7 separate regions of the Homo sapiens genome follow, and all the other regions are linked to region 1. Evidence: promoter capture Hi-C in 16 types of primary human blood cells and fetal thymus (Javierre and others, 2016). All regions are on one chromosome and are shown on one strand. Each heading gives the region's core, a stretch centred on a gene start or on the middle of the fragment in contact. The rest is flanking DNA. Distances are from core to core; before and after follow the strand shown.

Region 1 (4,320 bases), core at 504-3,003:
CGAGTGCGGGCTCCGTGGGTGCACCTCCCACTGGCCCGGGAACGGCCTGCACCCCGAGGGGCGCACGTCACTGCTCCCAGCCCGAGTCGCGAGCGCGCAGTCCTGGCCTGGGGCCCGCGCGCCTTGGGCTTTCTCCCTGCCCGCCCCTTTTTCTTCCGCCAAAACCTTTGACCAGAGTCTCCTTGCCAGCATTCCTACCTCCCTTTGGCCAGCTATTTGTGCCAGGTAGGAATCAGGCTGTACTTTGGCTGTGTGTGTAGACGCCAATCCCCAGGAGGCGTGTGACCTTTTCACCTTACCCACAAACTCCCTGGGAGGTGCCCCGTGGGCACTGACCCTTCTCCGGGGCCTGATCGGTGACCGCAACCTGTTTCTTCCCAGAAATGTCCTTGCTTTTCGCATCTACAAACGCTTCCTGCAGCACTTCTCGGAAAACCCTCGGGGACGGGCCTGGGGGGCATCCAGCGGGCTGGGGGCACGAGCCGCTGTGGGAAGTGGGGGTGGCAGGAGCTCCAGGGCCGGCGTGCACGTTGTCTGTGGCCGGGAGCGGACACTGAGAGGGCGCAGCGAAGAGCACCCCTCCCCCGCCACTCTTTCCCTCCCTCGGGATGCACAGAGAAACGGGGGCCGCCCGACCCCTGATTTCCACACCCCTCCCTAGCACCTGGGCTCCCAGACAAGGTTGGGCGGGGTCGGGCGGCGATTGCCCCCCTGCTTGGAAGGCGCAGCACCTCCCACCCTCCGGTGTTCCCTCTGCCCCAGAGGAACGGGCACCAAATCTCGGGAAACAATGAAGCCTCCGCGGCGCGCAGAGGGCACCCAGCCGCGCGCCCTGATGCGGGCCAGGGAGGCCGCGTGGGGCTGCAGCCCGGCCTCGCCCGCCCAGGCGGTCTGTCTTCGCTTCACACCACAGCGACACTGCTGCCCCTCGCCCGGCTTCGCGGTGCGGCTCCCACTCCAGCCCGGCTTTCCCCTCCTCGCCCTCCAGCTCTGGGCAGGGGCGTCCAGGGGTGCCCCGCTGCTCCCCGCCACAGGTCTCAGGATGGCGCGATGAGGAGTGGCAGGGGGTGACCCTGCGTTCCTCGCCGCCGAGGGCGCGGGCCCCGGGATTTGAAGTTGCGAGAAGCAGCCGCCACCTCCCGGGCGCTCCGCACTGCGCGGCGGCGGGATCTGCGCCTGCAGGAGCTGCCCAGCTCTCCCTCTAGGGGTGCAGAGCGAGCACGCGAGGTGGGCTGGCCAGACCCTGCGGCTGGCACTGACCTCCGCGCCCCTTCCTCCGACGCCCGCACCCACGCGACCGGGGCGCAGACTCCCAGCGCCTTCCTTCCCGCGGAGATCCCTGCAGGGTCTCTGGGAAAGACAGACAGACGGACGGGGAGAGCACTCGGAGGGAAAGTTGTTCCTCCCAGTCTCCTGTCAGGCAATTACAGGCGAGCCCAAGCGGGGAGAGGGGCGGGAGGAAGCGAGGGAAGGGCTCCGGAGTGGGGGGAGGCCGCAGGAGGGGAGGCGGGGGTGCAGTTGGTGAAACTCCTCTGTCTCCCGCTCATCTTTTCATTGCTCGTTCCCCTCCTTCCCGCAGACACCCGGACCTCCCCTGGGCGCCAGCTCCGCGGCTCCAACGGGTCCAGAAACAAGCCGGATTTTTTTTTTTTCTTCCTGGAAATTGGCTTTGGTGTGTGTTGCCCTACCTCCCTCCTCCCCCTCCCACCCACAGCCCCCCCCCGGCCTTTTTTTTTTTTTTTTTTTTTTTTGAGACATGGCCCGGGCAGTGGCTCCTGGAAGAGGAACAAGTGTGGGAAAAGGGAGAGGAAGCCGGAGCTAAATGACAGGATGCAGGCGACTTGAGACACAAAAAGAGAAGCGTTCCTCTCGGATCCAGGCATTGCCTCGCTGCTTTCTTTTCTCCAAGACGGGCTGAGGATTGTACAGCTCTAGGCGGAGTTGGGGCTCTTCGGATCGCTTAGATTCTCCTCTTTGCTGCATTTCCCCCCACGTCCTCGTTCTCCCGCGTCTGCCTGCGGACCCGGAGAAGGGAGAATGGAGAGGGGGCTGCCGCTCCTCTGCGCCGTGCTCGCCCTCGTCCTCGCCCCGGCCGGCGCTTTTCGCAACGGTAAGTGACAGGCAGAGGCGCGGGTGACAGCGGCGCCCCGGCTCCCAGCTGCCCGCCCCGGACCGGGGCTCAGGCGGGGCTTCCCGGGATCAGCCGGGAACAACCGACTCCCGGGCGAAGGAAACTTTTATCTGGGAGGAGAGAAGAAGAAATGAGATCAGGCGGTTTAGAGCAGGAGGATTTCAGGTCTTTGGGCTCCCTCCTGACGTTGATCCTTGGGCTGTGGGGCTTTTCCTTACCTCTGTTACAAGACAGAGCTGTCTACCTTCCCAGATCAGCATGCCAATTATCTTAATAATGTTTCCTCCCAAAGGCAATTAGAAGAGACTCCCTTTCAAAAATCTGATGGCTGTTGAAAGTTAATGAACACTTTACCAGGAGATCTTACTTCCTGGTTCCTTTGCTGCTCCCCTAAGCCGTTTCCTCTGGTGGGTGACGGCCAGAGATATCGGTTTGTGGGTTGATGAAACTCCCTCCCCCGCCTTTGTACACCTTCCGTAATCTGTCTGGAGTATGACTGAAAGTTACATAGTATCAATACAGGAATCTGACATATACAGTGTAAGGCACCAGGATATCTGAAAATCCCTAAGCTAGTTGCAGCTTCCACTTAGCTTTTAAAATCACTCACTGTTAAGTAAATGAAAAACTATACTGGGGTCTAAACAGTACCATGTAACCTAAATAATGTGTTTTAAAATGGGATCTGGTTGTAGGCATGTTTGACTTCACACTGTAAAGTAAGTGCAGGCAAGGGTATGCAATTATCTTTACAGTAAGTCGTCAGCAATTGTTATTAACTAATGATCAAATATTTACTTTTGTCTGGCTTAGATTTCAATCACAGTAATTAGAAGAAAAGAACATCCACTACTTACTGTGGTATATTGTTTTAATAAGAGACCGCAAGTGGAGGGCCTCATACCAACAGGAATTTAAATCACATCTTTATGATGGAAGTTAATCTCTCTAATATGCTTTTTCAAGGTTTTGTGATTTTAGCAATGGATTTCCCTCAGCAGCTACCAAGCAGTATTTTAAGAGATGCTTAAAGCAAAACACATGCAAAAAAAAAAATTATGAACATGGAATTCAGCTTATTAATGAGCCCAAGTTGATGGCATTTTTCTATAATCTGGCAGGAAAGCAAGACACAAAAAATTATGAATGTAGAATTCAATTTATTAATGAACCTGAGCTGGTAGCATCTTTCTATACTCTGGCAGGGAATGAAATAGCATTCTCGTCCAACTGAAAGAGCTCAAATGGTTGGACTAGAAATTATAGTAACCCTGTCCTCCACAACTCTTGAGACTAAATCCATAGTGGGGGTGTTCACAAGATAGATTTGAAGCTCAATGCAAAGAGCTATCAGACTTTAGGTTGTGAACTACACAAATATATATGCAGTACACACACACACACACACACTTCTTAGTTTTCTTAGCAGAAATCTGGGGAATGCTGAAAATCTGGCTTTAGTTGTTGAGCTTTACCAGCAAAAGCCATGTCGCTATGCTTGAAGTGACCAGAGCCAGAAAATGCCTCTGTAACTCAGCAGACCTCTCAAAGCCATGTCCACCTCCTCTGAGTAACCAGTGTCTGCTAAATTAATTCATTAACCTTATTTAGGACTAATGGTCCAGAGTCATTAGAAACTGCTCTTTCTTAATCAACTGCTAGAGAGATTGAACAGAGCCAGGGAGTCTAGCAGTCCACATTATCTTATTACACTGTCACTTTCTCAGAAGTCACAGATTAAAGAGCTCTGGTGTGGTACCAAGTCCACCTAAATGTCTTCTGAAGTGACTCTGTCGAGTGACTAGAACCAGTGCTGTTTTATTTCACTCCTGTAACAGATGCCAGACACTACCATGATGTTTGTCCAGAGCTAGAGGAAACTTAATGAGACGAGGTCACTTTCCAAGTTTTCTGCACATTCAAAATAATGCAAGAGTCTCAGCAGAATCACATAACAGAGTCCAACATGATCATTAGCTGAGATTTTGAACTCCAGTTGCAACATCATTTCTTCCTGGCAAAGCTTACACTTTTACAAGCCAGTGCAAAGGAAACCAGCATAAGACTACCCCCAGTCTAAGGAACAAAGTCAGAAGCACCTAGCGATTGAGAAAAACAATATAACTTATATTGTCTTCTTTTTTTAATTTATGGGAAATGATTTCTGTAATGCATGTAGCTTTATGCAT
Region 2 (4,320 bases), core at 910-3,409, 1.3 Mb before region 1:
GTGGCTTTTTCAGTGGAGTCATTTTCACCATCCTTTTACATTAAAAATGTAAATTGATTCACAGTGGGGGGAAAATAAAAAGTGATCTAGATGTGTACCTTAAGGAAAAGAATTCATACACCTTTATTCATGTATGCTATTATGTCTTCATTTACATGTTATTATGTATCATCTAGCATTATCCTATGAACCATTAAGAAATGGCCTCTGGGTGCTACAATGTGAGTGGCACTTCCTTTAAAATACCCCAGCCAAAAATAAAAAAAGTGAAGCAATGAAACAGTTTTGGCGAAGATTAATAATTACTACAGCTGAGTGAGTGATACATAGGAGTTCAATAAATTATCCTCTCTACTTTTTTGCAAGTGTGGCAAATTAGATCATTAAAAAAACTAAAAAGTTTTTGTAATTAACATTTTTAAATGTTGGGAACAAAACCCTTAGAAATAATTTTATTCTTGCTCTGTTATTTAGTGGAGGAAACTCAGGGCAGATGACATGTGTTGGTTTGTCCTGTGTGTCAAGGCTCCTTGGAGGCAGAGCCTCTTGGGAGGTGCAGGTTTCCTGGTTCCTCACTTTGTGCTGGGTGTGCCTTTCAGGATCTGATTCCTGAGGGTGTGTACCAAGCCAGTACTGTGTGTGCGCTTGCATTGCCTTACTCTTCACTAAGAACATGGAATTTGTAGGTAAATTCTAAGCAGTGAAATTGTAGAAACTAAAACACTTTGAAAATAATATATATAAATTTAGCATGTCTTCTGTGACATGCACAATTATAAATGCTGTACTTATTTTAACACACGTGGTGAACTCTGTGAATGGGCTCTGGTGTTTTGTCCATTTTATAGGTGAGGAAATTGAGGCTCAGAATGCACCAGGATTAAGTTGTTATTTCTCAGCTGCAGTTCAGCCATTTGTGCTCTGCTTTTCGAGGAGACGTCTCCTTTGCTAGCTGCTCCCTGGAGCTTTAGAGGGAGCTGGAGCCTGGCAGGCAGGAGGGGGGACATGGCCCTTGTTTGCTTCCTGTTCCTGTCTGCATTGCCCAGCAATAGTCATTAATTGGCAGTTCCTTCTCGTTTTTAGATTTTTTCCCCCTGTCCACATCTTTAGGCCCCCTTAACAGAATCAGCACCGAGGTCCTTCTGCTAAGCTCCTCATGCCTCAGCCTCAGCCTCAGCCCCAGCCCCCAGCATCTTCTCCTCGGAGGGTGGGTACCGTCTGCCCCTGGTGCCGCCTTCAAGCTTCAGGTTCTCATAACCGAATTTCCTCAGTTCCGCGGGTGGTAGGTGTGCTGCAGTTACCTGTTTACCCTCTTCCTTATATTAAGGATTTGTTTTGTGATTTGTTTTCCTTACTCGATCCTGACCTTATTTTTGGCATTTATTAAATGATATTCAGAATTCAGCAAATTGAATTTATTCTAAGGAATATTGTAATTTAAAATAGTATCTAGTTATTAGTACTAGTACTTATTTTTACATCTTTACCAAAAGGTATAAAACACATTTTTAAAAAAACATTTGAATAAATCCACTTATGTTGTGGATTCTTTTTTTTTTTTTTGAGACGGAGTCTTGATCTGTCGCCCAGGCTGGAGTGCAGTGGCGCAATCTCGGCTCACTGGAAGCTCCGCCTCCCAGGTTCAGGCCATTCTCCTGCCTCAGCCTCCCAAGTAGCTGGGACTACAGGTGCCTGCAACCACGCCCGGCTAATTTTTTGTATTTTCAGTAGAGACAGGGTTTCACTGTGTTAGCTAGGACAGTCTCGATCTCCTGACCTCGTGATCCGCCCACCTCGGCCTCCCAAAGTGCTGGGATTATAGGCGTGAGCCACCGCGCCTGGCTGTTGATCTCTTAAAAAGCTGAGAAGTGGCTAGGTGTGGTGGCTCGTGCCTGTAATCCCAGCACTTTGGGAGGCCCAGGCAGGCGGATCACCTGAGGTCAGGAATTTGAGACCAGCTTGGCCAACATGGCGAAACCACGTCTCTACTAAAAATACAAAAATTAGCCAGGCGTGGTGGCGTGTGCCTGTAATCCCAGCTACTCGGGAGGCTGAGACAGGAGAATCACTTGAACCCAGGAGGCGGAGGTTGCAGTGAGCCAAGATCGTGCCACTGTACTCCAGTCTGGGCAACAGAACAAGACTCCGTCTCAAAACAAACAAACAAACAAACAAACAAAACAAAACTGAGAAGCAGAAAGGTGACAGTGATGTGTTAATTACTAAAATCATGTGGCTTTGGGGAAGGACACAGATCCAATGAGAATAAATGGTTATCAGGTGATTGTCAAATAGATCGAAGTAGACTTTTTTTTTGGACAATAATTATTTCATCACCAGATGAATTTCAGGCCAATACAAACATCATTGTCTCAGTTCCTACCTTTCTCTCCCATTTCACCCTGAAATTTAAGGAACTATGAAATGTTTGAAAGTGTGCATGTTCTCGATCTGGCTTTTCTGACTTTTTTTTTTTTGGTAGAGGTGGGATCTCCTCTGTTGCCCAGGCTGATCTCAAACTTATGGCCTCAATCAGCCCTCCCAGAGGTGCTGGAATTACGGACATGAGCCATCGTGCCCAGCTGTGATCTGGCTTTTCTTATTTATGCAATTGCCAAGGCTAGAACAGACCTGGGCCTTATTTGATAAGTTTAGGGTCAAAGTTTGCATCAGATCGTAATTCTACACAGAGTAAAAAGTAGAAAATGTGACAGCTTGTCTCTTCTCTCCCTTAGGCACAGTGTTGAATGTTTATTAGAAGGCTGTTTCCTCACAACATGTTTACATCAAGATGCATGCATGCCTTAGCTTGATGCTTTTGCAATTTTTATGTAGCATCTGTTCCCAAATACAAGAGCGCTAACAAGGCCTTAATACAGATAGCAGTGAGGACAGCAGGGAGTTGCCCCTGTCGGTTTCTGACTTCTCCTGCGGCCCTGAGTTATTATTCATAATGTAAATTCTCTCTCAGTTCCCAGCATGTACATAATTAATGGAAAAGACTATCCAAGGAAGTTCAGCAGCCACAAGTAGGTCACCATTACCAGATGTTTAATTATTGTCATTAGGAAGCTTTTGGAAATACCTGATGAGCTTTCTAAAAGCATAACAATAAGCAAATCCTTTTGGATTTTGATGGATTGGTTCTTTTGTATTGAATGATGATTAAGGTTATTACAGGCACAGCACTCTCGCCTTCTTCCGAACATCTTTATCAAAAGTAATAATTATGCTACCCTCGATATGAAATGCACGTCACTCTCCTTTCATATGTTCTCTGATTTCAACTGTGCCAAGTTTTAATTAATGTACTTCAATAGTACGAAAACTTGAGCATCTATAATTACATCTTTAGTAGCAATATTTAAAACCTTTACTGACAATATATTTATCATAGAACACTTCCTGGAATTAAGGTCAGTTTATGTGGAACTGACATGCATTTCAGATAGGTTTTTTTTTATCTTGAAGGTTAAAAGTAGAATACAATATAGGAGAAGCTAAGAGAAGCCCATTAACATTACAATTTTTGTGGTTTATGGGGGGCAGTGGTGTTAAGTAAGTTTAACAAAGGCAGGGAATTTTAAAAATTACTCTTTACTTTTTTCTTCAACATCAAATTTGTATACCATAAAAAATTTTGACATTTTGCTAGTATGTGAGTGAGCCATTCCCAAGTCATCCTTTTCAAATGTTGTTTGTTTTTGAGTTCACGTTGAAGAACACGATTAAAAAAATTCTTTTGGTTTTTTAATTCAGTTCAGAACTGAATTTAAAAATCAGAAATCTCAGTGTCTCCTGCTCTTTGCTGCTTTCCTTCATGGCATCTGTTGTTACTCTTAGACTTCATTCATTCCCATTTTGTGGCTTGTTTGTGGAATTTAAAGTTCTTAAAAGCCCAATTTCCTGGTCTCCAGTTACTTTTAAGATGGACCCATTGGCTCCCCCTTGTGTCTACTCTTTGTATTGTCATCCTCCAGGCTCTTGGTTAAACAGCTTGTAAGGTAACTTTATTACTGCTCTTGAGGAAGGGACAATGGCTATATTCGTCAGCGTTCTCATCCCCTTATTTACTCTCCTCTGCATTCTGCCCTCTTCTGCGGGGTTGGTAGAGAATAGCTTGGGAAGAGCCATAAAATGGAAGGTCTTGAAAGCCAGACATCAGAGTGGAGTTTTGGAGTATGAATCGTGTGCTGGTAATTTATGCTCCTCCCCATTCTGCACTTTTCTCCAGGGTTGGTTGTGATGTCATGAACTTCTCTCCATCTCACACACACCCACAGTCATGTATGATCAGGAGTAACACAGGCTAGGGCAGTG
Region 3 (4,320 bases), core at 1,108-3,607, 1.3 Mb before region 1:
TGGCATGGGTGATTATTTGAACAATATCTATATTTTATGCTTATTTTTAACTCCATGAGAGTGGGGTCTCTGAGGAGGAGGTGGTGGTGGTGTGTGTGTTCTTTATATCCCAGGTGCCTGGCCTCAAGGTATTTGTTGAGTGAATGCATGAAGGGATGAACCTTCATAAGGGTTCATTCTGCTATTATATTATGCAGAAACAGAGAGAGGTAAGCTTATTTTATACAATATCAGGGAGAAGGCTGGAGAGCCAGTGTCAGGAACAGTTTCCTGAAGTCAGAGCTCTCAAACATTGAGGTTGGCTGCCTGTGGAGGAAGGGAGTTCAGGTAAAGGGTGAGCAGTAGAAATATTGTAGAGGACATTCAAAGATTTTTAACTGGTAGTTAAACCAGATGATCCTAAAATGCTATTTATATTCTGAGACTCCATTAAATATTTGAGCACCTACTGTTTCCATAACAATGTGAGCATCACAGCAGACAGATTCAGCAGTGTGAGAAACGAGATGACTACCCATGCTGGAGTATTCCAATCTCATGGTGGTGGTGGTAAAATAAAAATTAAAAAAGAAAAAAGTTGGCAAATAACATTATAATTCTATACAATAAAATGCAGGATATTTAAGCTATTTATTCATTCAATAAATATTTGAATGCCAATAAACTTCATAAGTGTCAGCATCACCATTGTAGTTGAAGAGAGAACAACACAATTTTTTAGGAGAAGGTGGAGTTGAGCTACACCGTAAAGACTTTATGGGACTGTGGGCCGGGCATGATGGCTCACATCTGTAATCCCAGCACTTTGGGAGGCTGAGGCGGACAGATCACTTGAGGTCAGCAGTTCGAGACCAGCCTGGCCAACACGTGAAACCCCGTCTCTACCAAAAATACAAAATTTAGCCAGGCGTGGTGGTGCATGCCTGTAATTTCAGCTACTTGGGAAGGTGAGGCACAAGAATTGCTTGAACCCAGGAGGTGGAAGTTGCAGTGAGCCAAGATCATGCCACTGTACTCCAGCCTGGGTGACAGACTGAGACTCTGTCTCAAAAAAAAAAAGAAAAAAAAAAAAGGCTTTATGGGACTATATTGGTGAACTCTAGAGCATCCAGTGAGGGGCTGTGGGATGAGTGAAAGCTAATTTCTAAGAATCACGAGGTGTGCTCTGAGGACAAAGAGGAAACCTTAGGGAAGTGGCACCAAGTGAAACCAGAAAGGAGACTGGGATCATATTGTGGTTGACCTTAAATATTACCTTAGTGTTGAGGAGTCACCTGTGTAACTGAGGAGAGAGGAGGAGGTGTGCATGACTCCAGCAGGTTGGAAAAAGCCAGTGCCTCTGCCAGACAGGAATGTGGAACGGGTGGAAAGTGGTGTGATCTTAGATGTGTAGAGTGTGATATTTTGGAAATCCTATTGGAAACAGTCAGTCAGGAAGGATGTCCTAGCTAAGAAGACATTTGAAGTTTTGAAAGTGGCTCATCTATTTCCTGATTGATACATACCATTAGTTCAGTTTGGGTCTATTATTTTTTGGGTCCAGTTTTTTTTTTAAAATGAATTGATAGGCATGTTTACCAGAGTGCTATTACTTTGTTTTTGGAGATGTCACTTTCTCATTTTTACCTGAATTGTGACTTACTTTGCCACTGTTGTGGAAGCGTTCTTACATTCTGACTTCACAGTACAAGATGTCACTTGATGTCACCAAGAGTTAAGAAAAGCTATTTTAAGTATGCTGGAAAAGGAATCTATTTCAGTGTTTGCGGGAGTCACTATTTTGAAGCAAACTAAGAATTTCTAAGGAGCTTGGAGACTTGCACATCTTCTGATATTGGGAGGTCTTAGGTTAAAAGACTTTTTTATTTGGATTCATTAATTGAGTGTAGGTCATTGTTAATGGAAAATCGTTGAACACTTAATAAATACAGCTATGTTTAAAGTTCTTAAAAATTTAAATACAGATTAGGAAGCCCAAATTTCAGAGGAACTGGTAGAGGATTTGTGCTTTGTTTTTAATGTTTTAAACAGCCCTGTGGTTATAGTTTAGAAAGGTCATAGTTTTGACGGTCCTCTATTAAAAGAAAGTGATTTTTCCATCAGAATACAGTTGAGTGCCACAGTGTATAGAGAAGCCATAGCTAATACTTTAAAATGTTTTACTTTTAAAATTTCAAAACAAACTGTAGGTTTTAAAAGTTTTCTCTCTCACAGTTTTAACCCAATCTGAGAAATAAAAAAGTAAAAAAAAATAAATGTATAATTTTGATCTCTCTAGGCTGAGCCCCTAGAGTGTAGCCCTTTATTCCTTGAAGGAGGCATCCCTTTAGTGAGTTTAAATTTATGAAGCCAGTCCCATGAAGGCTGCCTACTCATGTCTCCCTTGCCTTCAGTCTGTGTGTGCTTTGCTTTTAATTTGAGAAATAATCACTTGGTTGTGGTCTTGTGGACCAAATACTGTGTTATCTATAGACAAATTGAAATGTACTTTAAACATTATTTTATTATTTTTGACAAAAATTATACATATTTATGGCATACGGTGTGATATTTAAGTGATGTGTAATGGTCAAATTAGGGTAAGTAGTATATCAGTCACTTCAAACATTTTTCATTTCTTTGTATTGGGAACATTAAAAATTTTCTCTTCCAGCCATTTGAAAATACACAATACATTAGTATTTGTTTTCACCCTACAGGGCCTTAGACCACTAGAACTTAATTCTTCCTATCTAGCTGTAATTTTGTGTCTGTTAACCAATCTCTTCCTACCTTCCCCTTCCCAGTCTCTGGTAAGCACTGGCTTACTCTCTACTTCTATGAGATCAACTTTTTATTTTTATTTATTTATTTATTTTTTGAGACAGAGTCTTGCTCTGTCGCCCAGGCTGGAGTGTAATGGTGCGTGATCTCGGCTCACTGCAGCCTCCACCTCCCGTGTTCAAGTGATTCTCCTCCCTCAGCCTCCTGAGTAGCTGGGATTACAGGTGTCTGCCACCATGCCTGGCTAATTTTTTTGTATTTTTAGTAAAGATGGGGTTCACCTTGTTGGCCAGGCTGGTTTTGAACTCCTGACCTCAAGAGATCCCCGCCTTGGCCTCCTAAAGTGCTACGATTACATGTGTGAGCCACCGCCCCCGGCCAAGATCAACTTTTTAATTTAGTTATTTTTTTTTTTTTTTTTTTGAGACAGGTGCTCTGTTGCCCAAGCTGGAGTGCAGTGGTGTGATCTTGGTTCATTGCAGCCTCCACCTCCCATGCTCATATGTTTCTTCCACCTCAGTGTCCTGAGTAGCTGAGACCATAGACCCATGCCACCATACCTGGCTTTTGTTTTTTTGGTAGAGATGGTTCTCCCTGTGTTGCCCAGGTTGGTCCCAAACTCCTGGGCTGAAGCAGTCCTCCTTCCTTGGTCTCCCAAAAAGTGCTGGGATTACAGGCATGAGCCACCACAGCCAGCCAGATCAACTTTTTTAGCTTCCATGTACAAGTGAGAACATGCTGTATTTATCTTTCTGTACCTAACTTATTTCACTTCACATAACGTCCTCCAGGGTCATTCATGTTGCCTGAATAGTATTCAATTGTGTGTATAGACCACGTTTTCTTTACCTGTTCATCAGTTGCTGGACACTTAGATTGATTCCAATATTTTGTCTATTGTGAATAAGGCCGCAGTGAACATGGGAACGCAGATATTTCGTTGATGTGCTGATTTCTTTTCCATTGGGTGTATATGCAGCAGTGGGGTTGCTGGATGTATGATTGTTCTGCTTTTTTTAATTTTTTTTTAATTTTTTTTGAGAGAGTCTCACCCTGTCACCCAGGCTGGAGTGCAGTAGCACGATCTTAGCTCACTGCAAAGTCCACCTCCTGGGTTCAAACAATTCTTGTGCCTCAGCCTCCCAAGTAGCTGGGAGTACAGGTATGTGCTACCATACCTGGCTAATTTTTGTATTTTTAGTAGAGACAGGTTTACCATGTTGGCCAGGCTGGTCTCGAACTCCTGGCCTCAGGTGATCCACCCGCCTCTGCCTCCTAAAGTGCTAGAATTACAGGCTTTTTATTTTTTGAAGAAACTTCATTCTGTTTTCTATAATTGCTGTACTAATTTGCATTCCCACCAGGGGTGCACAAGAAGAGTTCTCCTTTCTCCACATCCTCACCAGCATCTGTTATTTTTTGTCTTTTTGGTAACAGCTATTCTAACTGGGGTGAGATGACATCACAGTGTGGTTTTGATTTGCGTTTTTCTTATGAATAATGATGTTGAACATATTTTCATATGTTTCTTGGCCATTTGTATGTCTTCTTTTGAGA
Region 4 (4,320 bases), core at 801-3,300, 1.3 Mb before region 1:
TTCTTGCTAATGCCTTTCAGTACTAATGTTTTCCCTGCTCCAGCGTAACACCCAGAATCTTTTCCTTGACCATTCTGATAGGAGCCTAGAACCTTCTGTAGTTTTCAGTGTTTCTTTGGTGAGGCAAATTCTTGGAATATCTTTGGCACGGGGGTGTAAAATTTCCACTCGCTATATTTAAGTCTACAGCTGGGAGCAATTTCTTATTGATGTACCTAAAACTAGTTAAATCCCCACTCTCCTTAGCAGTCCCTCTTGAGAGTTATTTAAGATTTAGGTAATATATTACAAATTGTGAGTGCAAATCTCTGCCACTCTCTGAGATTGCTGCACTAAGGAATCACTAGCCCTGCCCTTCCCTGTCTCATCCTCCCAGCGCCTGGAATTGGATTAGCACCTGTGGTGTGTGTTGGCATTTTCTGCAGGGCTGATATGGTCTGGCTCTATGTCCCCACCCATATCTCATCTTGAGTTGAAATCCAAATTGTCATCCCCGTGTGTTGGGGAAGGGAACTCGTGGAGGGTGATGAGATCATGAGAGAAGTTCCCCTATGCTGTTCTTGTGATAGTGTGTGAGTTCTTGCGAGATCTGGTGGTTTTATAAGGGGCTTTCCCCACTTTGCTCTGCACTAATTCTCTCTGGTGCTATCTTGTGAAGAGGTGCCTTCCGCCATGATTGTAAGCTTGCTGAGTCCTCCCTAGCCGTGTGGAATTGTGAGTCGATTAAACCTCTTTTCTTTATAAGTTACCCAGTCTCAGGTATTTCTTCATAACAGTGTGAGATCAGACTAATACAAGGGCTTTAAACATTTGTGTGTTTGTGATAGAAGGAAATTCCATATGCAGGTATGGTCAACTAAGTGAGTACATTTCCTTAAAAAAAAAAAAGTAAAAATTTGGATTTGATGGATATTGCTTACAAACTTGAGTGCTCCCAAAGTTATTTCCACAGGCATGCTGAATCTCATCTGATCTGTAGTGACTCTCACATTTAACTTGAATTAGAGCTTGGGCACAAAAGCAATAATTTGAACAAAGTTTGATTCTTAAAGAGTAATATGGTATCCACTTCCCCACTTCCATTGTTTTTCAAGAAAAAGTTGGTATGCAATACAAGGGTAATATTAAGCTTTTATCTTCATCATTTATTTATTTATTTTTATAAAGACAGGGTCTCACAATGTTGGGGAGGCTGGTCTCGAACTCCTAGGCTTAAGCAATCCTCCCACGTTGGCCTCCCAAAGTGCTGGGATTACAGGTGTGAGTCACTGCACCTGGCTTCATTTATTCAGTATTTGAGGCAGAATAGGAAAAAAGAAAACCAAGGAAATTCTAATGTATAAACTGTGACAGAGTGTTTTTTTTTAACCTAAATAATGAATTCCTTATATTTGAAATAACTAAGTGAAAATAAAATTTTATTTTGTGTCTGTTTCAATGTAAAAGCTTATTTCATTCCACTACAGCATACAGAAACTTTATTCTTTTTCCTAGAAGGTTATAGTACCAGACACCCTTCTTCCTTGAAATAGTTTAGATGGGACTGACTGAAAAGAATCACTGTAATTGGCATGTAGAGTGTCACTGGGTACTCGTTAGGATAAGAAAATGTAGTGAAATCAACTTGAAATTTAACCAAATTGATGGCATTGTGCCTTGTAAGGTGCTTTATGGAATGTAGTCACATTTTATAGTAGACTTAAGTTCTAGTTTTAAGTAAATTTTTTTTATTTTTACATTTTCAAATGACTTTTAACAAATACTCTGAATGAATACTCAGTAAATACTTAGGCCATTAATATTTTGCAATGGAAATTTCTATTGTAGTTTCAGTTCATGAATCTTTGCTCCTTACCCCATCCCACAAGAAAGACTTAAACATTCAATGAGAGGCAAATTTGACTTCTTCAAAGCCGGAATGGAAGAAGGGAGACAGAATGTCACAAACTGTAGTCTGAACTTGACATTGTGATATTCTTAGAGAATGTTTTTACTTTTAAGCCTTAAAAAGTATTCATGTTCTTGAACTGTGGAACTCCAGTCTCAAGTTTGGTTGTTTGGCAAGTAAATTAAGACTAATCATTATAACAGTCCTTTGCTACATGTCTACTGTAGCTGAGCTCTGTCCTGTGTGTTTTAGACATTACCGTATTTAGAAAGAGAATGACTCCAAGGTGCTACATGGAGAAACTAAAGAGAGTCACATGGCCAAGATGTACCACACTGGAGATGCCAAAACTTGGTTAAAAGCCCTCATCTGACTGACTTTATTTATTTTTATTTTATTTTATTTTTTTGAGACAGGGTCTCACACTTTTGCCCAGCCTGGAGTGCAGTGGTATGATGTTTGCTATAGCCTTGAGCTCTCTGGGCACAAGTGATCCTCTCACCTCACCCTCTCAAGTAGCTGAGACTACGGGCATGAGCCATCATACCTGGCTAATTTTTGTATATTTTGTAGAGTTGAGGTCTCACCATGTTGCACAGGCTGGTTGACTTATTTTGAAGCCGATTTTCTTTTTGTCGTCCTCCTCTACCTTCAGGACTTTTCAGGTAGTATAATCCTGTCGTCGTAATTCCTGGCATCACTTACTCCATTCTTGAGGTTTTCTGGTCTCTTGCATAGCCAGGTGAGAGCTGAGTTGAAAAGCTTTTTATACAGGCTTCATGGATATGTATACTGGTATAAGTGCATCACACAGTTAATAAAAATATTGGAGAAGACCATTTAGTTCACTTCTTTATAACAGCAGTGCCTGTACACACTTTCCTCAAGACTTTCTGGTAGTTGGAAATATGAGTTTAAAAGTAATAGTCATTAAATTAAGTGGAAACTGTGGGTCATTTCAAAGACATTGTTTTTACAAATTGATTATACACATACTAGGTCCTTCCAAGAGCATGCTTAGGTTGAACAGAAAGTCTTACTAACAAAACACGTGCCCTGTGCTCTGTATTGTCCTCAGGGCATATGATTGACTATTACAGTAATAAACCCTTGCTTTCTCTGAGGTGCAAAAAGAAGCTATAGTCTGAGTGCTTGGGAGAGGCATAAGTCATAATTGTAGGCTGTAATAAATGCAAATCTATGAAAAATGGGTTAGCTTCAAACAGCTGAGTCGCAGAGTCTTGCAAAACCATGCCCCATTATTCCTCTCTGGAGCCCAGATCATAGAAGAATTATCCATCTTTTTTAACAGTGGGATTTCTAAGGCTTCTCAGAAATCTCCGGTCTCTTGGTTTCCAGCAAGAGAACAATATCGAGTCTTAAATGACAGAAATGAATTCCTAAATAAGTTGAACTTTTTCAAGTTTTTACCAAATTTAAATAATAATGCTCATATGAATGGTAGCTCATGTCTTCCCTGTGCAGGTGGTACTGAACTAACATTCTAAATTTGAAATGGCAGGCTCTCTGTTCCCCTGTCTGGGTAATCTCTGATAAAACATTAATCATCTCAAGGTTCTATTCAAGTCCATTGATGGAAATTGTGAAATGTAATTTAGCTTGAGGAATTGAATTAATGTTTTCTAATAGCCCTGAGATATTCACTGATTTATAGGTTTGAATGCTGGGAGGTGCATTTGTGTTTCTCTGTGTGTGCGTGAGCTCATCCTAGTTAATCTAAATAGGTGTTTAGAAATGATGCACATTCTATATCATAAAAATATGTATTATCTCTGTGACTGGTGAATATTGGTATGGTTTATTTGTGTCTGTCATGGAACTTATACATTGCTTTATACACCTGGTATAAATTCGTGCTCAACTGAGAAATATTTGTTGAATTTTAAAAATCCTTTAAATGTATATGCATATATATGTAGACATGGAATCACAGATGTATATATTTAGTTCTAATGTTTTATTTTCAAGCAGGTGCAGAATTTATCTGATTTGATTACTTACACTATGTGCCTCTGTTGTGCAAATACTAGTTTTCTCATCCTTTGTTTTTCTCCTTACAGCTCCTTTATCACTTTGCAATATCTAGCTCTGCTCTGTAACATTTCTGCCTCAAACCCACATTGATGGCGTACTTGTGTCTTTCTCACTACCCTCTTCCTTTACAATGTTACAGCTTAACAATGGGTGCAGCATCCATTTGTCTTTCATTTCATTCCCTTCTGCATGTGTAGCGTCTGAGAAGTTTCTGGCCCAGGTAGGCATGCAGTAATGTATTGAATGAATATGGTAAGGGAAGAAGGAAAAAACATGGTTCCAAGATCCTGGGGAGGTCTAGTTGAATGGACTGTGCCTTTTTTGTGTCACCTTGGAGCAGTCATTTCATCTCTTGAGGCTTGGTTTCTTCTCTGTGA
Region 5 (4,320 bases), core at 1,124-3,623, 1.2 Mb before region 1:
CCAAAAAAATATATATATATAGTCACGTGTAACACAGTGTTATATTTAAGCATTGCAAATTTACTTTGTGAATAATTTCTCCCTCATAATTTAAAAATATTTAAAAATCAAACCCAAATTAAATATCCACTGTAAATTATCCTATAGTAAATGTCCTGTGGTAACATGAACATTTCCTCCCCAAACCCTCATTATTCTGTTGAATGATTTTGCGTTTCTCTACAATTTCCACATGTTGATGTTTGAACCTTAATGCAATACAATTTTTCTCATGTTGTATTTGGCTAATGTTGTCTGCTGTCTGCTTACTCAGGAGAGTGCCACAGTGATTTGCTTCTGAAGGAAAATAAAGTTATTTCTTAGATTTGTAAAATACAGTTCATCTGGCATTAAATATTTTTTAATACTTTTACTTAGCATGAACAGGACTTTGGAAAATTTGATGAGTTTAGATTTGAATATCAATAACCTTAGTGAGTGTTTATTTTTAGATGGTTTTGTTAACATTTTTATTTGGAGATAATAATATATACTGAAAATGTAATTAAGTCTCTACCAGTTGAAGTGTTTCATATTCAGTATTATTAGAAAAGTGAAGAGTAGGAATTGAGCAATTAACATTTGAGTGCATCTTTTTTACAATTGAGGAAATTGAAGTTCAGAGAGGTTAATTTGCCCTGAAGTCAAACAGCCAGCAAGTTCTGGAGCAGGACTTTAGCTCTTCTTTAACTGCAGCATCTCTGTTCTTTAGCTTGGAAATCGCTGCGTCTGAGAACAGGGGAGGTCACGCCACATGGTCTGCCACCCCACAGCTGCAAGAGTGTGTAAATCATTATTCTTAAGACTCAGAATTTTGTTTCTTATGAAAATGAATATAATCTCTGTAGTCTTTGTAAAAATTAAACCCCTATGATTTTTATATCTTATTTCTATAAATTCCATGAAATAAAATTTGTAGCGGTTTTTTGGTAAAATTGTCAAAGAGACCAGTTTTCTTTCTTGTTGTCTAGAAACTTTCAAAACGAGCAAGATTTTGATTCAAAACAGAAGTATTTAAAATCCTAATGAATTAAGTCCTCTTAAAGGATATCTCATTTGCCAATAATGGAAACATCACCGTATGACTTGTTGAATATAAACCTGTGATCATTATGGTGGCAAACTTCAACCACACTTGTAGTACTAACTTTAGCAGGGTAAATTTCGATTTACCTTTATGGTCAGTGATATTCCAGCAGCATAAAATGCAATTTTTGGAAGGCTGTTCCTAAAACTCATTCCCTTTTCACTAAGAACTGTGGATAACAGACTCAAATGTGGTTCAGGGTGGTTGCAGATGGACACTGGGAGGCAGAGGTGAGAGAGCAGAATATTCGATTACCCCACAGGAAGAAAGCTGCCTAGTGAATGGAAGACAGTTGGTTTTGTTCCTTAACCTGCCCATGAGCAGTCATTATCCCATTGACAAAACTAGATTCTCTTTTGTTGGATATAGGATACAAGGACACGTTCCTCGTAGTGAACTAATCATGCTTGCTAGCTAGAGCCTACAACAATTACATCTCACGATTCTGAGGACAGATGGCTGGAGGATAATTTTGAAATTGTTCATGTCACATCTATTGTGCAAAGCTTCTTGGTACAATATTGATAGCTTCACGTCCAGCTGTAGCTGCTGGTTTCAGATCTTCCTATTTTTATCTTATTGTTTAAATGAATAATGTCATTACTACTTTAAAAGCCACTGAAAAATTTAAATTAGATTAAATTGTCAAAGTGCATAACTGATGTTTGTATCTCTCTGTCCTTGTGTTAATTAAGGATTTGTAGGAAGTGCTGTGGATGAATTTAACCCGTGAGTGGTTGTAAATCTGACTAGACTACTTGTTTGATGCTAAGTCAAACCTGTGTAAAAAGAAAATGCCGCCAAAGGACTCAACTTTTCTTAAGGTTTAAAACTATTTCAGAAATGACTTGGCGGTTTAAATGTTTATAATATTGGTAATCACAGTATGTTAAGCACACATGCATATGTATATATTTTAATATTTTAATGTAAAATAGTCTCGTTAGTCTCCATTCTTTACCATTATTTTTGAAGTGAACATTTATTTTGACATTGTTTTTAAAAAATTGTATAGTGGATTAGCATTTATTTTTAGAACACATGCAGAATCAGTCCATCGCATAATACAAATATAAATGTTGATATCAGTACTTTGTTCAGTATCATTTTCTCTATTGCACATCACCTAGCAATCCTCCTTTTAGGAATGGTTGGCTCAACAAGATCTCATTAACCTTGTGTTTTCTTTGAGTGGTGCACTATACTAACAGCTATAAAGTGCATTTCCTGTTATTTGTTTCCTATGTGGCAGTCTTTCTTAACTTGTCAATACTTTATTTCCAAGTCTTTATAGAGGAAGTGACTATAGTCAAAGAAGTTAAATGTTATCTTAAAATACACTTAAAAAAATCCTGGAAGTACCTGAACCATTTTAGAAATATTCTTGTCATTTTTACTCTTTAAAATAGTACATTCAAAAAAAGAGTGTTAATAATAACACTTAAAGATATATTCTTATCTTTAAGCAATATTGGCTTCAACAGCAGTCACATCAGTGTCTTGTGCTTTATTTGGCCTGATGTGGGAATGGATGGTGCCAATTGTAAAAAAAACTTTGGTTAATTTATTTAGTCAGTATCTAGATAGAACTCTATAAGACTATGATGGGGCTTTTGTGTAATATTTTCTATTGTAAAAGCAAAAGAACACATTTCTTGTGCATTTAGGTAAGAGAAAAAACTCACATATTTAAAACCTGCTTTTTTGCGGGAGGGTGGAGATAATACACAGGTAAATTTTTATTTTGGTTTGTTTTGCACCACCTTCTTTCCATTTTTGGTCAGCTGTTCAGGCTGCATTTCCGGGATAATGTATTTACCATGCATTTTAGTCATTGTACCTCTCAGCCTCCAGCTGGCCTTCCCCCAGGGTATCTTTGCACTTGCAGGTCAGAAAAGACCAAGTTATGAATGTGATCTCATTTTCAAGGGTTTTAATCTGTTTTTGGAATTAGTCAAAATCTGTGTTTTGCTGTAAGATTAAGCTTGTGAAAGGCTGCAAGGCTTTCCTCTTTGCAGATGCTTTGAATGACTTGTATAGAAATGTCCCACAGAGGTGCTTCCTGTTGTTTTCACATCCCTTTCAGGAATACACAAGCCCCCCTGTTTGTCCATCTCTGAGAAAGACAAAATAGCTCAATACTTCTTGCAAAATAGAAAATGTCATTTGTTGGTTGTGGTGGTAACAGGGCCGGACATTATTCCTCATTCCCATCCCAAAACATTGTTGACTCAGCTCCAGACCTCATGTAGTAAGAACAGCCGTCCTCCTGTGTTATCACTGGGGTGGCTCCAGGATCGATGGAATGTATTGAGTTGGATCATCAGTGCCAGTTCACTGGACTGTATTTAATCATTGAAAAATGAAGATGTGTATTTTCCTTTTGACACAATGGAAAATCAGTTGAATCACGACTTTTTGTTCCTTGAATTTGAAAAATGGAACAAATTATGAAAAGCCAATTATCACCATCATTTGAATTCCACATTTTTTGAAGCTTTCCTCCCCTCAAAAATAACCTGGTGATCTGATTAGTGTTGTCAATTTCCACAGGATCTTAAGGGAAGGGGCCACTGTCTTTCCACATCTGAAAAGTGAATGCCATAAAGATAAAACAGCTTATCAAGCCATGGTGTGAGGCACACTGTGCATCAAAATCACTTCTTAAAAACGAGGATTTTAAGAACCAGGAACACAAAGTTGTTAAAGAGCAAGTTATTTACAGAGTTAAGATAAAAGTGTCCCGGCTGGGTACGGTGGCTCACATCTCTAATCCCAGCACTTGGGAGGCCGAGGCGGGCGGATCACTTGAGGTCAGGAGTTCGAGACCAGTATGGCCAACATGGTGAAACCCTGTCTCTACTAAAAATACAAAGGTAGCTGGTTGTGGTATCTCACGCCTGTAATCCCAGCTACTCGAGAGGCCAAGGCAAGAGAATCGCTTGAACCCAGGAGGCAGAGGCTGCAGTGAGCTGAGATTGCGCCACCGCACTCCAGCCTGGGTGACAGAGCGAGACTGTCTCAAAAAAAAAAAAAAAAAAAAAAAAAAAGCCTTGCTCCTTTGTCTTTTATCTGACCATCTGGTCTTCTGTAGTGACCAGACGAAGAACTGTCTTAATATAATTAAACTAGCTTTCATGATGAAGTATACTTGGCTACTAGATGATCTTAGATTTCTGGCCAGCAATTAATAT
Region 6 (4,320 bases), core at 903-3,402, 1.2 Mb before region 1:
TTGTAGCTTAAGTGGGACTCCTACTTTCCCTGCATCTAAACATTCGTAACTTGCTGGTGGCACAGCAGGAGGAGGGTTTGAGGGTGGTGTGTGGGTATGGAGACAAGGGCTCCCCACCCGTGGAACCAAGCCCTGGTTTACTATATCCAGCTAGCTGAAGAGGTAAAAAGACTAGAAAGAAAGGGCCTTCCTAACTAAAGATCTCAGCTCTGAAAGACTAGAAAGGAAGGGCCTTCCCACTAAGGATCTCAGCTCTGTTTTTGTGGACTCACCAGTGGATGCAGACATTCAGAGGAGCAGGAGAGCAGGGCATGCTCCTGCCTGGTCGTGACTGTCCTGCTATGTTTCTGGGTTGTGCATTCACATTGGCAGCTTTTCATGCCCTGGGACTATTACAGCGTAGGGACTGGGGGAGATTTCAGGATGTGACTTATGCCTGGGAGTGAAGGGAGTGGTGTTTAGTGGAGATTAGGAAGAAGATGGAAAGTATTTCACCCCCAGTTGCTTGCTCACTAACGTTTAACATTGTGATTGGTGCTGTGGGTTTTGGTGGTGGTTGTCTTTTAATTACAGTTTAGAGAGGCTGTGTGTGTGTCTGTGTATGAGAGAAAGAGAGATTTTGGTTTATCTCGTTAAGACCTATCTATTTCCTACATGGTGTTGGATTTTTTTTTTTTTTTTTTTTTTTTTTGATACGGAGTCTCTCTCTGCCACCAGGCTGAAGTGCAGTGGTGCGATCTTGGCTCACCGCAACCTCCATCTCCCACGTTCAAGCGATTCCCCTTGCCTCAGCCTCCCGAGTAGCTGAGACTGCAGGTGTGTGCCACCACGCCCAGCTAATTTTTGTATTTTTAGTAGAGACGAGGTTTCACCATGTTGGCCAGGATGGTCTCCATCTCTTGACCTCATGATCTACCTACCTCTACCTCCCAAAGTGCTGGAATTACAGGCATGACCCACCATGCCTGGTGGACTTTTGATTAATAAAAATATTTTGGCCGGGCACAGAGGCTCACGCCTCTTAGAAAAAAAAAATCTTTTTTTTTTCTTTTAAGCAAAATCCCTACTGCAGACTGTGTTGTTAATTTAAAGAGTTACTATTGAGGGATTCTCTTATTTATCATTTGTTAATGCAGGCATTTCTGGATACACGTAAACATATGAATTGTCAAGCTAAATTGTTCACAGATTAGAACACTATGCTGTTGACCCCTGTTTCCACGTTACTCCCTCTTAGATATGTTGGAAGGTTGGCAGAGTGGCAAGGCTGGAACATATACCCATAGGTGAGGTACTGCTCTAATATCACAAACCATGGGGCTAGAGCCTGAGACGGGTTTGAGGTCAAGTTTCCTGGTACTGTGTACGAGAAAGTCTATCCACACTTTGCCATTCTTGGCTTAGCCAGTAGGAACATTCGCTAGTCTTTAATGTGCTCATGGTATTTTAGTGTTCTTTTCTAAGTTTTAGGTCTTTTTTATCAGACAGTATATACCCTTCTTAATATGCTGATGAAGCGTGGAATTAATCTCACATGCATAACATTTAAAGTTTTCCAGTGGCAAGCTTAAGATTCTTGTTCTGTAGCGAGTTTTTATTGGTATAGTTTGTATTACTATGATTACAAAACATCATTGGTTCAAATATATCCTTTTGCTTACTCGTCCAGTTAAACACTAGCTCTATTTAAATGAGTTTTTAATGAACCATGCTAGCAAGTAAGGCTCAGAGAATGATTAAGGATTTAGTATTGTCTCTGTGTCATTAAAGTAAATTCAGTCATCAGAAAGCTTACAAATTGATTTTTAGTTCCCTTTTTGTTGTGTCTACGTAATAATTAGTTACTACATCATCGCATTTGCTTCTGAGATTATTCATCTTGCCCATTTGCCAGTCTTACCATGTTCTCTTTGAGGGAACACTGCATGTGTTCATGATAAAATCACAACTCGTGCCACTTCCTCCAGTTTGGAGTCAACCTATCTGTATGTGATTAGCCCATTTCTGAATTATTTTGTTCTGTCTTACTGTGCTATCCTACTTTTTATTAATACTTAAGCAGTAGTGTTATGTAGTTGTAACCTCATGGGTGGATACCAGTGTAACAGTGGCACTCATGATAGAGAGTAGAGCAAGAGGGGTTTATATTATATTTGGCAGGTGGGTCAGTTAGCTGATGGCTATACGAATTTGCATATTTTCATTGTGGTTTGTGGTTGACATACTCAAGGCTATTAGTTGAACATAAGTCTTAAACTGGGAATCTAATTAGTCTGAAGGCTCAGTGGGTGATAGACTATGTCACCCTGAGGGACAACAGAATTAAATTTCAGCTCTGAAATGTAAGCATCAGGGCTAGGGAGTATCATAGGTGAATATCTTTCACTGTGGTTTCCAGATGCAGTGGAATATCTCTATTAGGCATGAGTGTTCAAGAAATACTTTCTTCTTAAAGGATGGCATTAGCTCTTGTCGGACAGGTCTCCCTTTGGCAATTGACAGATAGAAGCTTATGATGATGGTGGTCTCCTGTGTTGTTCAGGAAGCAGCGGGAATGTTCTGCCCTCTCCTGCATGATATTTTGCTGGAAATGGCTTTATTAAAGATTGATCTCATTTAGCTCCCTTTCTTATGTTGGATAATACACTGTGATAATCTACAAAAGCATGTTAGTGTTTGGTTAGTTTTTCTTTTATGTAAGTGCCACAGGTTATCACGTGTGCTTTATGGGAGACAAGTGTAAATGAAATCTTAAAAAAAAATAAGAGATAGAAAAAGGGGAATTCAGAAACTCAAATACTTGATCTAATTTATAATTTTTTTGGACATCCTTGAGTGAAAGGGCAGAAGAATTTAAATGTATTGGTAGGTATGATCCTAATTATAGAAATCTATAATTTATAAACTATGGAGACGAAAAGTGATTTTTGAATTAGTGATAGTTTAGAATTATACATCATGGAACAGCCTGACTTCAAACTTAAAAAATGCATGTATCTCCAACTCCTTTAGTTTTATTGTTAAGTTTTTGAAATTTATTTCATTATGCTCTAGTTCTCCCATATCTGTTGAATTTTCTTTCTATTCTCTTCTGTTACATTCTTCTTTATAGGCACATCTGCCCATGACATCTCCCTGTCATCTCTCAAACACGCACTTTCTGTGTTGTGCTTCTTGTTGACTAAGCCGCTGGATCTGGCTTGACTCATGGAGGCTGCTCATGTTTCTTAGATGAAGAGAGGGTCATGGAGGCATCTTCAAGTTTATTCTTGTTTCTAGTATTCTCCAACATGTTTTGTACTTTATCCAGGGCCAAAATATGATGCCTTTTTAAAAGAATTATAAGTCTTTATTTCATAGGAAAACAATTGCATATATTGACATTGAGTGTCCAATGACACCCATCATAATTGACTTTCCCTGGATATGTCTAGCTTATACATGAAGAAAGCAATGGAAAGTGAGAGATTGCTCACAGGGTGTCACATTAAAATGGCTTCTCAGGGTGTGTGGAGTTTGAACCTAGAGGTCTTTGAGATTTCACTTAGACTTGGCTTAAATCAGCTTTCATTTTCCTGTATGAGGGTAGAATCTGCAAGTTCTTTGATCCTTTTAAGCCCTCTGTTTAAGACTGAGTGATGGCACCAGCAGGATGAATTGTCTGTGATGATCTTCATTACCCTCAGATATGTTCAGAAAAATTTTAAGTGGTGTCATCAAAATTGCATTAATTTGGTAAAGGCAGGTTATTACGTTTGATTAATCAAAAACGAACAGAATCCTATTCAGAGGTCTGCAGATAATCTTAGTTTGTAGCCTGCCAGTGCCCTGTGCTGTGGATATGTTAGATGCTCCAGAGCAGGAAGATTTGGAGAAAATAGGATCTTTGACTTGATTTCCCATCTCAAATTTATTCTGTATTTATTTATATGCTAGTCAGATTCATCTCTCTGAGGCTCGGCTTTGCTTCCTGTTAAGTGAAATAATAAAAACGACTTTGTGTTTCTGTGGGGCCCTCTAGAGGAGGATGTAGAGCGTCTGTGGAAGGTCTTCATTTTGTGCCATATCTATGTTGAACATGCATTTTCTAGCATGCTGTCTTCTTTCCGTGTTCTTTTTCCCATTACTATTCCTGTGTAGATCCAAGACACAGCGATTGAGCTTTGCATCTGTCTTCTTTACTCTTGAAACTATTCTCATATTTACAAAAGTAGAACGTATTTATCATCCATCACAATATAATTTAATAAAAGCTCATAGTAAACATACTTATTGTGTTCTGGAAGTTGTATACCTTATCTCTTTATTTGTCCTACATCT
Region 7 (4,320 bases), core at 1,042-3,541, 1.1 Mb before region 1:
TTGCATACTTTGCCAGAATGAAAATGAGTAGAATGACGGGGACAGAAAAAGGACAAGATTTTCTTTTTTTAAGATGGGTAGTTCACTAAGTGCTTCTTGAAAAGTAAGAGTTTTATGCTGTGTTCTCAACAGTAACTTTTGCCCATAAATTCTGTCTGAACAGAATCAATAGTGTTTTCTTCCCTTAGTATATCCCAAAGCGGGGTGCTTTGTAATTTACTTCTGTGTTAACTTTTTTCCTGTTATGTCTTAGACTGTATGTTATATGATAGTATAGAAGCCACCTATGTGAAATATTTAAACTTTTGTGAATGAATGTGGTCTTCTTGCCAAACGTAAACATACTATGTTTTTCTCGATTGCTCGGGTTCACTGAAGAAAGCACACCTTCTTAAGATACAAGATTTCTGTTGATGGGATTGGTCTATTTGGGGGCTTAGTCAACAGATATTAGTGTCTCATTTGTAACCTTTCTCATACCATGAAAGGTTGTTGGCAATTTGTATTCTCATTATCTTACTACCTATTTGGATCTGGCAGTCTTTCTCTTTCTTTCATTGTTCCATCATTTATTGGCTTAAATGAGTATTTGGAAGTCCTGGCTGGTAAGAATTCTGTGTCTTTGGATATATTGATTCGTTGACTCTAGGAAGCAACTGATTTTAGATTGTTCTTGATGTTTCCAAACTTTTCCCTTTCTGATGTTTAAGAAGTTGAGATGATGAAGTGTTGCCATCTGCAATTACAACAAAAGTACCAGAGATAGCCACAGTGACTTCCTTTTTTTTTCCTGTTATTTGTAATATCAAAATGTAAACCAGAAACAGCTATGCACACATATACACAGGATAAATAAGTATTAAATTAATATTAGATATCAAATGTGGAATTTCTGAAATTGCATGTAAGTGTTTAGAATGACAGAATGTTTAAATGTCTTTTACCGTTCCCTGATACCTTTATTTATTTTGGTTTTCTATCTCTTATATGTCAACTTGTCCTAATTAATTAAATTAATTTTATGCTTGATCAAAATAAATACAGAATTTGTGCAGCTCATAGCAAAGCCTCGTGTGAATGTGAATATGTGCTGGTGTGTGAATGTGATAGTTATGATGTTATTTTGAGGCTATTTTCACTAAGGAAAAGACAGTCCAGGATCCTGATATTGCACCTTTTATCAGCCATTGATATTTAGAGTGTTCTTTACTTTTTCCTCCTCTTTTCTGTATGCCTCTAATCTTGGCAATTGTATTTTTAAATTCATTCATCCCTCTGCATCTTCATTACTACTTCCAAAGTCCAAGCTGTCAACAGCTCTCACCTGGGTCACTACACAACACTGCAGCCCTCCTCCCTGTTTACATCTCTTTGTCCACTGTGGCTAGACTGATGTGTGGTCAGGAGCACTGCTTGACACACTCTGGGGCTCTGACCATACCCAGGAACACCGTGGGTGAAGTGGTTAACAGCTGCTTGAAGTTGCAGCAACCTGGATTGGAATTGCACAGCATGTCTTATGCTGACCAAGCTGCTGAACTTTCTAAGTGTCAGAGCAAGCTTCATAATCTATTGTGATATATTTCAGAGGATTGTGAGGATGAGATAAGATGAGTCATGGAAAGCTCTTAAGACAGTAGCTAAAACACATGAAATACTCTAAGTGTGAGGGCTGATATTGGTGTTTTTGTCCTTTTTGAGTCTTCCTGATGTTCCTTCACCATGTGGATCGCAGCTGCTTCCAGGGTGCATTCCCAGGTTAGGCAGCCCTGCTGAACTCACTCTAGTCTCCAGATCTACCCTGTTCTTGCATCTCTGGGTCTTTGAACATGCTGGCCAACTCTTCCCTTTTTCCTGCCTAGGATCTGCTGTTCTGATCTCCTGCCACCTGCCTCCTTCAGCTCATTATTCTTAGCCATACCCGATCCCTGCCAAAACCAATGTGAGGCACACATAATAGTGTCTTATTCTTTCCCATCCTTGCACTTTCCAAATTTCATTTTAATTATGTCTTTCTTTTTAAAGAGGGCAGGACCCATATCTGTTCCTCTGAGTTTTTAATTTGCTTTGTTTTCGAGGGAGGCATGACTCAATGTGTGGAGGCATTGGGTCTCTGTCACATACGTTTGCAGCCTAGCGTAACCATGCTTTTATTGAATACATTTGTTATTATAAAGGGCTTTCTGCTTGTAATTTGTATATCTGGAAATGTTCTTCTCTTAAAACATTTTTACAGCAACCATTTTGATAAAAAAATCTTATTCCATAGATAGTATATATTTTCTTACATTGAATGATTAACTTTTCAAGAATCTCCTCTAGATTAAATTGGAGAAAGTTTGAGGGGAGGGCAAGGAATGTTAGTTTGATTATATCAGCAGAAATCTGGGCTTTTTGAATTACTCATATTTTAAGTCCCTTGGGGGACTAATTTTCCTGAGAACTTTGTATTATAATCATAAACAGATCCAGTTCAGTAATACTTTCATAAACTTCTGGCTGAGACTTTGGTATTAATGTCCTGAACTCTTAGAAAGAGAAACATATTTTTGTAGGTTGGCCAAGAAAAATAGGTCTTGATTCAAATAAAATAATGTATTTGTTATTTTTAAAAGGTTTTTCCATTGAGCAATCTGTGAAACTTTTTGGTAATTTAGTTGTCTAATATTGGACATGACTTAGGCAGTGACTTGGTGTATTTTCTGTGGCTCAATATAATGACTATTTGAATTTTTAAGTTTTTGCTTTTGACTTGGGAGTAAGTTATGTTAGATTACACATTATTACAGAACAGTTAACTGTTACTCCTTTGGTTGTAGATTTTAATAAAAGGTAGAATCCTGTGTCTTAGTTCCTTAAATATATTTGAAATGGTAAAATATGCAGAGAAATTTTTTATTGAAAGTAAACATTTTATTTAAGGTACTTTAAATGTACTTTAAGGTACATGTGCAGTTTTCCCCCTGCTGTTAGTAAATGGCTGAAATAGCACTTTGGATCTGTGGCACCCTGGAGAAGCTTTCCTCTTCACTCCTCTGACATTCTGTTTCTAAGCTCATTCATATTATTTATAGAAATTTCTTCTTTTTGCTCTACCTCCCTGAGTGCTGGTCATTTCTCTGGATGGGTTTTTACATGCTCTTCCTTGGTGAACTTTTATGTTACTTTAGTTCCTCTTCCTGTTCCTTCAGACTTGTGCTTACCTGCAAGGATGGGCTGGTCACTACTGTCTAGATATCTTTTTGATCACTCAGATTCAACATGGGTGAAGGTAAACCATCTTTATGTTTTCCCTGAGATGGGAAGTGGTCCCTAATAAAAAGGGCAATGTGACTTGAAACTGCCAGTTCTGAACCTCATTGTCCATGGATCTGGGCCATATATAGCAACCTATGTGTTCAGAATTACCTTACCCCTGTGAAATCATGAGTAGTTAATTTCTGGTGTTTCCTACGCCCAGAAAATTCTATGATTGGCCATTCTTTTCTTGTTTCTTTTAATTTTGCTCTGTGTCTCCCAGGCTTCAAACTTACTCTCTTATTATCTTCTCTCTAATTTTTTATGTCTTACCTAGTGCCAGGTACTATATATTATACCTTTACTCCTCTGTGTGTGTGTGTGTGTGTGTGTGTGTGTGTGTGTGTGTATGTGCACGTGTATATCTTTCTATTTTCACAGCACCTGTTCTCATTTCAGCCATATTCCTTTTGACTAGACCTATGTAATATTTGTCTCCCTCTCCATCTGTTTGTTTTTAAAATCAATTCTGCGTTTTCCTATTTGCTTAGTCTTCCAAATTGCCACTTGGATTTCCTCACCTGCAAGTTTAAAAGCATGCAAAACACTCCCTACTGTATTTTGATTTAAGTTAAATCAAATTTATTATCTTGATATTCTGGGTTCTCTGCATTCTTTTTTTTTTTTTTTTTTTTTTTTTTTTTTGAGACAGAGTCTCACTCTGTAGCCCAGGCTAGAGTGCAGTGGCGTGATCTCGGCTCACTGCAAGCTCTGCCTCTCAGGTTCACGCCATTCTCCTGCCTCAGCCTCCCGAGTAGCTGGGACTACAGGTGCCCGCCACCACGCCCAGCTAATTTTTTTAGTAGATACGGGGTTTCACCGTGTTAGCCAGGATGGTCTCGATCTTCTGACCTAATGATCCACCCGCCTCGGCCTCCCAAACTGCTGGGATTACAGGCATGAGCCACCATACCCGGCATTTTTTTTTTTTTTTTTTTTTTTTTTTGAGACAGAGTTTTGCTCCTGTCACCCAAGCTGGAGTGCAGTGGTGTGATCTTGGCTCACTGCAACTTCTGCCTCCCA

What was found. Contacts are between HindIII fragments. The CHiCAGO score rates a contact against its expected background, and 5 or more counts as called.
Region 2: a contact is called between a fragment that was not itself captured here and the fragment with the promoter of NRP1 in region 1, in 5 of 17 cell types (monocytes, megakaryocytes, erythroblasts and 2 more). The highest score is 7.7, in monocytes.
Region 3: a fragment that was not itself captured here is called in contact with the fragment with the promoter of NRP1 in region 1 in 6 of 17 cell types (naive CD8 T cells, megakaryocytes, fetal thymus and 3 more); the score reaches 8.3 in naive CD8 T cells.
Region 4: a fragment that was not itself captured here is called in contact with the fragment with the promoter of NRP1 in region 1 in 2 of 17 cell types (erythroblasts and fetal thymus); the score reaches 8.1 in erythroblasts.
Region 5: a fragment that was not itself captured here is called in contact with the fragment with the promoter of NRP1 in region 1 in 2 of 17 cell types (erythroblasts and megakaryocytes); the score reaches 6.3 in erythroblasts.
Region 6: a fragment that was not itself captured here is called in contact with the fragment with the promoter of NRP1 in region 1 in 2 of 17 cell types (megakaryocytes and endothelial precursors); the score reaches 5.4 in megakaryocytes.
Region 7: a fragment that was not itself captured here is called in contact with the fragment with the promoter of NRP1 in region 1 in 1 of 17 cell types (M0 macrophages); the score reaches 5.1 in M0 macrophages.

What each region holds. Positions count from the first base shown.
Region 1 is chr10:33,332,100-33,336,419 of GRCh38, reverse strand. It overlaps NRP1 (neuropilin 1), which reads left to right and starts at 1,753. Exons shown (of 17, transcript NM_003873.7): 1 at 1,753-2,110. The coding sequence starts at 2,038. The HindIII fragment of the contact is 8,759 bases long and covers 1-4,156 here.
Region 2 is chr10:34,655,389-34,659,708 of GRCh38, reverse strand. All of the region lies in intron 2 of PARD3 (par-3 family cell polarity regulator), which reads left to right. Among named protein-coding and RNA genes, the nearest start is that of PARD3, 160 kb to the left of the region's middle. The HindIII fragment of the contact is 1,831 bases long and covers 1,244-3,074 here.
Region 3 is chr10:34,615,797-34,620,116 of GRCh38, reverse strand. All of the region lies in intron 2 of PARD3 (par-3 family cell polarity regulator), which reads left to right. Among named protein-coding and RNA genes, the nearest start is that of PARD3, 200 kb to the left of the region's middle. The HindIII fragment of the contact is 4,281 bases long and covers 217-4,320 here.
Region 4 is chr10:34,592,805-34,597,124 of GRCh38, reverse strand. All of the region lies in intron 2 of PARD3 (par-3 family cell polarity regulator), which reads left to right. Among named protein-coding and RNA genes, the nearest start is that of PARD3, 220 kb to the left of the region's middle. The HindIII fragment of the contact is 1,204 bases long and covers 1,449-2,652 here.
Region 5 is chr10:34,565,117-34,569,436 of GRCh38, reverse strand. All of the region lies in intron 2 of PARD3 (par-3 family cell polarity regulator), which reads left to right. Among named protein-coding and RNA genes, the nearest start is that of PARD3, 250 kb to the left of the region's middle. The HindIII fragment of the contact is 1,478 bases long and covers 1,635-3,112 here.
Region 6 is chr10:34,522,452-34,526,771 of GRCh38, reverse strand. The region is part of intron 2 of PARD3 (par-3 family cell polarity regulator); the gene reads left to right. Among named protein-coding and RNA genes, the nearest start is that of PARD3, 290 kb to the left of the region's middle. RefSeq lists an enhancer at 17-772. The HindIII fragment of the contact is 719 bases long and covers 1,793-2,511 here.
Region 7 is chr10:34,431,664-34,435,983 of GRCh38, reverse strand. All of the region lies in intron 5 of PARD3 (par-3 family cell polarity regulator), which reads left to right. Among named protein-coding and RNA genes, the nearest start is that of PARD3, 380 kb to the left of the region's middle. The HindIII fragment of the contact is 1,458 bases long and covers 1,563-3,020 here.